Linked DNA regions of Homo sapiens: region 1 is linked to region 2. The links are contacts of gene promoters, found by promoter capture Hi-C in blood cells and fetal thymus (Javierre and others, 2016). All regions are on one chromosome and are shown on one strand. The core of a region is centred on a gene start or on the middle of the fragment in contact, and the rest is flanking DNA. Distances in the headings are between cores, read along the strand shown. Region 1 has its middle 43 kb from the start of OR2AG2. Region 2 holds the start of TAF10 (TATA-box binding protein associated factor 10).

Evidence for each region. The method cuts DNA at HindIII sites, captures the fragments that hold promoters and counts their contacts. A CHiCAGO score of 5 or more calls a contact.
Region 1: a contact is called between a fragment that was not itself captured here and the fragment with the promoter of TAF10 in region 2, in 3 of 17 cell types (activated CD4 T cells, non-activated CD4 T cells and total CD4 T cells). The highest score is 9.7, in activated CD4 T cells.

The regions. Positions count from the first base shown.
Region 1 is chr11:6,726,690-6,730,615 of GRCh38, reverse strand. No RefSeq gene overlaps it. Among named protein-coding and RNA genes, the nearest start is that of OR2AG2, 43 kb to the left of the region's middle. The HindIII fragment of the contact is 3,901 bases long and covers 1-3,757 here.
Region 2 is chr11:6,610,713-6,614,283 of GRCh38, reverse strand. TAF10 (TATA-box binding protein associated factor 10) reads left to right here and starts at 2,068. Exons shown (of 5, transcript NM_006284.4): 1 at 2,068-2,326; 2 at 2,466-2,620; 3 at 2,832-2,896; 4 at 2,981-3,095; 5 at 3,273-3,571. The coding sequence starts at 2,095. The coding sequence ends at 3,362. TPP1 (tripeptidyl peptidase 1) reads left to right here. Exons shown (of 13, transcript NM_000391.4): 13 at 1-1,516. ILK (integrin linked kinase) reads right to left here. Exons shown (of 13, transcript NM_004517.4): 13 at 3,414-3,571. RefSeq lists enhancers at 1,592-1,641, 1,692-1,821, 2,277-2,864, 2,865-3,453 and silencers at 2,112-2,211, 2,222-2,421. The HindIII fragment of the contact is 6,165 bases long and covers 1,177-3,571 here.

The DNA.
Region 1 (3,926 bases), core at 558-3,057, 120 kb before region 2:
ATGAGTTAGGGAGGATTCCCTCTTTTTCTATTGATTGGAATAGTTTCAGAAGGAATGGTACCAGCTCCTCCTTGTACTTCTGGTAGAATTCGGCTGTGAATCCATCTGGTCCTGGACTTTTTTTGGTTGGTATGCTATTAATTATTGCCTCAATTTCAGAGCCTGTTATTGGTCTATTCAGAGATTCAACTTCCTGGTTTAGTCTTGGGAGGATGTATGGGTCGAGGAATTTATCCATTTCTTCTAGATTTTCTAGTTTATTTGCGTAGAGGTGTTTATAGTATTCTCTGATGGTAGTTTGTATTTCTGTGGGATCGGTGGTGATATCCCCTTTATCATTTTTTATTGCGTCTATTTGATTCTTCTCTCTTTTCTTCTTTATTAGTCTTGCTAGCGGTCTATCAATTTTGTTGATCTTTTCACAAAACCAGCTCCTGGATTCATTGATTTTTTGAAGGGTTTTTTGTGTCTCTATTTCCTTCAGTTCTGCTCTGATCTTAGTTATTTCTTGCCTTCTGCTAGCTTTTGAATGTGTTTACTCTTGCTTCTCTAGTTCTTTTAATTGTGATGTTAGGGTGTCAATTTTAGATCTTTCATGCTTTCTCTTGTGGGCATTTAGTGCTATAAATTTCCCTCTACACACTGCTTTGAATGTGTCCCAGAGATTCTGGTATGTTGTGTCTTTGTTCTCATTGGTTTCAAAGAACATCTTTATTTCTGCCTTCAGTTCGTTATGTACCCAACTTAAGTTCTTAAAACTCTCAGATGCTTTATTAAACACAAAAGCTAACGAAGTCCTTCATTTGTTCGTTTCATTTTAAGAAGAAATGTCACTAACACACTTCTGATTTGATATTCTTATAGTACCCATACCATTTAAGAACACAGTGATATCCATTCTAAATTTAATATAGATGTAATAAATGCTCAAGTAAGACAAGCACTCAGAATTTCAGTCTTATTTTTGAAATTGTGTTATTTCCATTGGGCATGGAAAGAATTTCTGAAGTCCAAGAGTTTTTTTTTTTTGTTTTTTTTTTTTTTGAGACAGAGTCTCGCTCTGTAGCCCTGGCTGAAGTGCAGTGGCGCAATCTCAGCTCACTGCAGCCTCCACCTCCCAAGTTCAAGTGATTCTTCTGCCTCAGCCTTCCTAGTAGCTGGGTTTATAGGTGTGTGCCACCACCCCCAGCTAATTTTTGTATTTTTAGTAGAGACAGGATTTCACAATGTTGGCCAGGCTGGTCTTGAACCCCTGACCTCAAGTGATCTGCCCACCTCTGCCTCCGAAAGTACTGGGATTGCAGGCATGAGCCACCGAGCCCAGCCAAGTCCAGGAGACTTTTAAGACTCCTTTGTTCAAATAAGTCTTCCAAGGAGAAATGTATATTAAGAGAGACAAAAAGAAGCTAGCAGTTATACATACATTCGGAGATTGCATAGTAGTAATAAGAATAATATTCATTGTTACTGTTCTTAAATTGACATATTTCTAGTTGGACTGAAGTTTCTCTGTAAATATAAGGAAGAGAGGAAATCTTCTCCCTGTATCTTTCTAAGATTCCATTCTACTAGAAGTTTTTCGTTGAGAAGACTTAATTTTTTTGAGACACGACTCTGGCATTGTGTTATCACGAAAAAAAGAGCACGCCTAGTTTACTAGGGGAAAAAGTAGAGAAAAAATTGAACAGAATTTTTCCTTAATGATAATGGAATATGTATCCATGTAATATTTTGTCTACATTTCCTATATAGCTCAGAAAGGAGTCCAGTTTTTAGCAGAACACAGCAGGGTCCCTAGAAAGAAACCATTCTCTGCAGCTGAGGATACACTAACTTTAGGAAAGGATCAGAGCAATGCCTGGCAGGAAAAGATCAGCAATCCTAGCTGTCACTGACTCTCCATCTGACTTTCCCTCTCTGCCCCACAGTTCCAAATGTCACTTTGTCCAAGCTGGAGATGGCTTCCTGGATCACTGGGCTCTTGTTTTCCTCTAGGAAAAGATTTATGTAGACAACTTCCTTTAGTTTATTCAGAATAAAGCTGGAATTTTCCCAAATCAACTAGAAAACAGGCAGTAAAGGAAAGAAACGTGGAAGCCTAAAGATACGAAAGTTTACAGAACATACCTTCTTTGGTCAGTTCTTAAAAGTGCTCAGTCATCGCCAGCACCGTGTTCTGTCTTCAGGACTCAAAGCTGAACAAGCCATAATCTCTGTTTCTGGGGATTACAGTCAGTGAGCCAAGGGGAAACAGAGAAGACTATGAAGGATTACAATCAAGAGTGTGTTGTAAATGTTTTAACCAGCTCTTCAGAAAATAAAATTCCTGTTTTGTAGCATTTGCCTGTTTCTATTACATAAATATCCTCTCTGTGGCCACTTTCAAATTACCAACTCCAGCTTAAAATTGTGAGAGACGCAAAGTAACACATCATTACATAATATACCCTCTCTCTCTTCTTTACACACACACACATATATGCAATGAAAAAAACATAGACTTGGATTCAGCAACATAGATTATAGAAAATAATTAGAAAGTGATGGATTTTGAGTTTTACTACCCTTGTTTTTATATACTTTATTTACGTATAAATCTACATAATCTTTATTGAAGTGAAATTAACATAACATAAAATTAACCAACCCCTCATCATCCCCCTCACCACCCTTCCAATTCTTAAATATAAGACCTAAAACTATGAAACTCCCAGAAGAAAACATTGGGGAAACTCTTCAAGACATTTTTTATACTAGTATGTTTTTAGCCTCAATTTCATTTATTCTTGCTCTGATCTTTATGATTTCTTTCCTTCTACTATTTTTAGCTTTGGTTTGTTCTTGTTTTTCTAGTTTCCTGAGGTGCATTATTAGGTTGTTTATTTGAAATCTTTCCATTTTTTTGATGTAGGCATTTACTGCTATAAACTTCCCTCTTAGTACTTCTTTTGCTGTAGCCCATTGATTTTGGTATGTTGTCTTTTCACTTTCCTTTATTTCAAGAAATTATTTAAATTCCTTCTTAATTTCTTCATTAGCCAGTAGTTAGGAACACATAACTTCCATGTGTTTGTATAGTTTCCAAGGTTTCTCTTATTTATTTCCAGTTTTATTCATTGTGGTCAGAAAATACACTTAATATGATCTTGATTTCTTTGAATTTGTTGAGATTGGTTTTGTGGCATTGCTTGTGGTCTGTCCTAGAGAATATTCCATGTGCTAATGAGAGGAATATACATTCTGCGGAAGTGTGGTGAAATGTTCTGTAAATGTCATTTAGGTCTATTAGATCTAATGTGTAGGTTAACTCTGCTTTTTCTTTGCTGATTTTCTGTCTGGATGATCTGTCCATTACTGAGAGTAGGGTGTTGAAGACCCCCACTATTATTATATTGCAGTCTATTTCTCCCTTTAGATCTATTAATGTTTGCTTTATATACTAAGGAGCTTCAATGTTAGGTACATATAGGTTTATAATTGTTGTATCTGTGATATAGTTTAAATGTTTGTCCCCTCCAAATCTCATGTTGAAATGTGATGCCAGGTGTTGGAGGTTGGCATAGTGAGGAATGTTTAGTTCATGGGAGAAGATCCTTCATGAATGTTTTGGTGTCCTCCTCAGTGTAATGAGTGAGTTCTCACTCTAGTAGTTCATGCAAGAGCTGGTTGTTTAAAAGAGCCTGGCATCTCACTCCTGCTCTCCCTCTCACTATGTGACATGCCTGCTCCCCGTTCAGATTCTGCCATGATGGAAGCTTCCTGAGCCCTCACCAGAAGCAGATGTTGCGATATGCTTCTTGTACAGTCTGCAAAACCATGAGCCCAAATAAACTTGTCTTCTTTATAAATTACTCAGCCTCAGATATTACTTACTGTATAGCAATGCAAAAAGGATTAATACAATTTTCTTGTTGAATTGACCATTT
Region 2 (3,571 bases), core at 819-3,318:
CTCATCTTTCTCTTTTCAATCAGGCTTTTCCAAAGGGTTGTATACAGACTCTGTGCACTATTTCACTTGATATTCATTCCCCAATTCACTGCAAGGAGACCTCTACTGTCACCGTTTACTCTTTCCTACCCTGACATCCAGAAACAATGGCCTCCAGTGCATACTTCTCAATCTTTGCTTTATGGCCTTTCCATCATAGTTGCCCACTCCCTCTCCTTACTTAGCTTCCAGGTCTTAACTTCTCTGACTACTCTTGTCTTCCTCTCTCATCAATTTCTGCTTCTTCATGGAATGCTGACCTTCATTGCTCCATTTGTAGATTTTTGCTCTTCTCAGTTTACTCATTGTCCCCTGGAACAAATCACTGACATCTACAACCATTACCATCTCACTAAATAAGACTTTCTATCCAATAATGATTGATACCTCAAATGTAAGATGCGTGATACTCAACATTTCATCGTCCACCTTCCCAACCCCAAACAATTCCATCTCGTTTCTTCTTGGTAAATGATGCTATGCTTTTTCCAACCAAGCCAGAAACCTGTGTCATCTTTTCACCCCACCTTCAATCAACAAGTCCTCAATCAACAAGTCCTACTGACTGCACATCTTAAATATATCTTTATCAGTCCACAAGTCCTTCCAATTATATTTCCCAAGTATATCTAGAACTTATCCACTTATATCCCCACTGCTACTACCTTAGTTTAGGGCTATATTCTCTTGAAAAAAAGTGTCCTTACTTCCTGCCAATCCCCAAGTCATCTTCCAGAGTAAAATGCAAATCCCATCAGGCCACTTGGATGAAAACCCTTCAAGGATTACTGGATAGAATTCAGGCTTTCCCCTCCAGCCCCCAATCATAGCTCACAAACCTTCCTTGCTATTTGTTCTTAAGTAAAAAATCATTTTTCCTCCTCCCTCCCCAAACCCCAAGGAACTCTCACTCTTGCTCAAGCTGTTCCGTCCCCTTACCACCCCTGATACAACTGCCAGGTTAATTTCCAGAATTCTTGCAAGACTCAGTTCAGAAGTCACCTTCTTTCGTGAATGTTTTGATTCCCTGAGGCTACTTTATTTTGGTATGGCTGAAAAATCCTAGATTTTCTAAACAAAACCTGTTTGAATCTTGGTTCTGATATGGACTAGGAGAGAGACTGGGTCAAGTAAGCTTATCTCCCTGAGGCTGTTTCCTCGTCTGTTAAGTGTGAATATCAATACCTGCCTTTCATAATCACCAGGGAATAAAGTGGAATAATGTTGATAACAGTGCTTGGCACCTGGAAGTAGGTGGCAGATGTTAACGCCCTTCCTCCCTTGCACTGCGCCCCCTGTGCCTACCTCTAGCATTGTAACGACCACGTAGTATTGAAATGGCCAGTTTACTTGTCTGCCTTCCTTTCCAAGACCGTTGGTGCCTAGAGGACTAGAATCGTGTCCTATTTAACTTTGTGTTCCCAGGTCCTAGCTCAGGAGTTGGCAAATAAGAATTAAATGTCTGCTACACCGAAAACCTCACGCCTCTCATTCGTTGTGATTTTTGCATATGTTGTTGACTCAGGCTGAAACTCCTCCTCCTCCTACAGCAGCACTGTGTGCCGCCCCACTGCTGCCCCCACCTCTCGGGGCAGCTGGCGGAGAAGAGAGGGGGCTTTCCAAATCCACTATGAATCCTTAAAAGGCTGAATAAGGGAACTTGAAACGATGCAGACAGGCAGGCAACCCGTAGTCGAGGGACATAGGGCCATAAACGTCGAAGCCAGGTCTTGAGCGTCAGACAGAATGAGGTGTCCCAGAGCGGCGGAGGAGAGCCAGACGCACGCTGGTTCCGGTCTGGACGGAATCGCCGCGGAGCACGGCAGAGGCTAGGGCGGAATGGCTACGGCAGCGCAGTTCGCCAAGGCTCGGTCTCCGCCCTGCAGCCTATTTCCTCTAACCCGCAGATCCACTATGGGAGGAGGCGGGGAGCGGGCTGGAGAGCACTAACAGAGACAGGCGGGGCGAGTCGTGGGCGCGTGACGTCACCCCGGGGTGTGCGCGGCGCGAGCGGAAGCGGAAGCGGCTCTGTTCGCCGCCTCTCCCACCGGCCCGATGAGCTGCAGCGGCTCCGGCGCGGACCCCGAGGCGGCGCCGGCCTCCGCCGCCTCGGCCCCGGGCCCCGCGCCCCCGGTCTCGGCTCCCGCCGCGCTGCCCTCCAGCACCGCCGCGGAGAACAAGGCCAGCCCCGCGGGGACAGCGGGGGGACCTGGGGCTGGAGCAGCTGCTGGGGGCACGGGACCCTTGGCGGCGCGGGCCGGGGAGCCAGCTGAGCGGCGTGGGGCGGGTGAGGGCCGGGACGGGTGAGGGCGAGGGAAGCGTCTTGGGCTGGGTCCAGCGGCGGGTGAGGGCAGAGGGTATAGACAGACCTAGCTGGGGCCCTGCGCCTCCCACCTCTGTGTCTCATTTTGCTGGTTCTCCTCCAGCTCCGGTGTCGGCGGGTGGCGCGGCGCCCCCGGAGGGGGCCATATCTAACGGGGTTTACGTACTGCCGAGCGCGGCCAACGGAGACGTGAAGCCCGTGGTGTCCAGCACGCCTTTGGTGGACTTCTTGATGCAGCTGGAAGATTACACGCCTACGGTGGGCTTCCGCCCGAACAAGGCCACCTAGCCTGCTGTCAAAACTTTCAGCCACATCGTGCTTTTCAGCGTTCTCTTCCATTTGCTCCCCTAGTCGCTCTTCTGTGTTTGCCCTCTGCTCACCCAAACTGTGAGCTTCCTGATAATCAGGCCTATCCATTTCCCTCACCCTCCTCCCGCTCTGCTGACAGTTCTCTTAATTGATTTCTCAGATCCCAGATGCAGTGACTGGTTACTACCTGAACCGTGCTGGCTTTGAGGCCTCAGACCCACGCATGTGAGTAAACCCAGGGCAGGTTAGTTTTGGGTGCTTGTGCAGTATGTTGTCCATCTCCTTCTCATCTAAGTTTTTTCTCTCTAGAATTCGGCTCATCTCCTTAGCTGCCCAGAAATTCATCTCAGATATTGCCAATGATGCCCTACAGCACTGCAAAATGAAGGGCACGGCCTCCGGCAGCTCCCGGAGCAAGAGCAAGGTGTGAGGGGAGGCTTAATGAATCAGTAATTACCTTCCACAACAGTGGAGGCTTATCCTGCCACCCCTTTGGGGAAACTGAATCGTAGGGGAGGTGTAAGACTTACTCAGGGTCACCCATCTGGGATTGAAGTCCGGGATTCCTGTGCTCAGTTGGTGCTCTTCCCTCTTCCCTCAGGACCGCAAGTACACTCTAACCATGGAGGACTTGACCCCTGCCCTCAGCGAGTATGGCATCAATGTGAAGAAGCCGCACTACTTCACCTGAGCCACCCAACCTAAATGTACTTATCTGTCCCCATGTCCCCACACCAGCCTGTTTTCATAATAAACTTTATTGTGACAGGCGGGGCTGATCCCTCCCATGTTGGGAGACACCATGTGGCAAGTGACAAAGCTCTGAGCCCGCCCCTCTTGGGGCCACAGTGGTAGGGATGGGGGAAGGGGATGGACCCCATGGCTGGGGTAGTACCATGA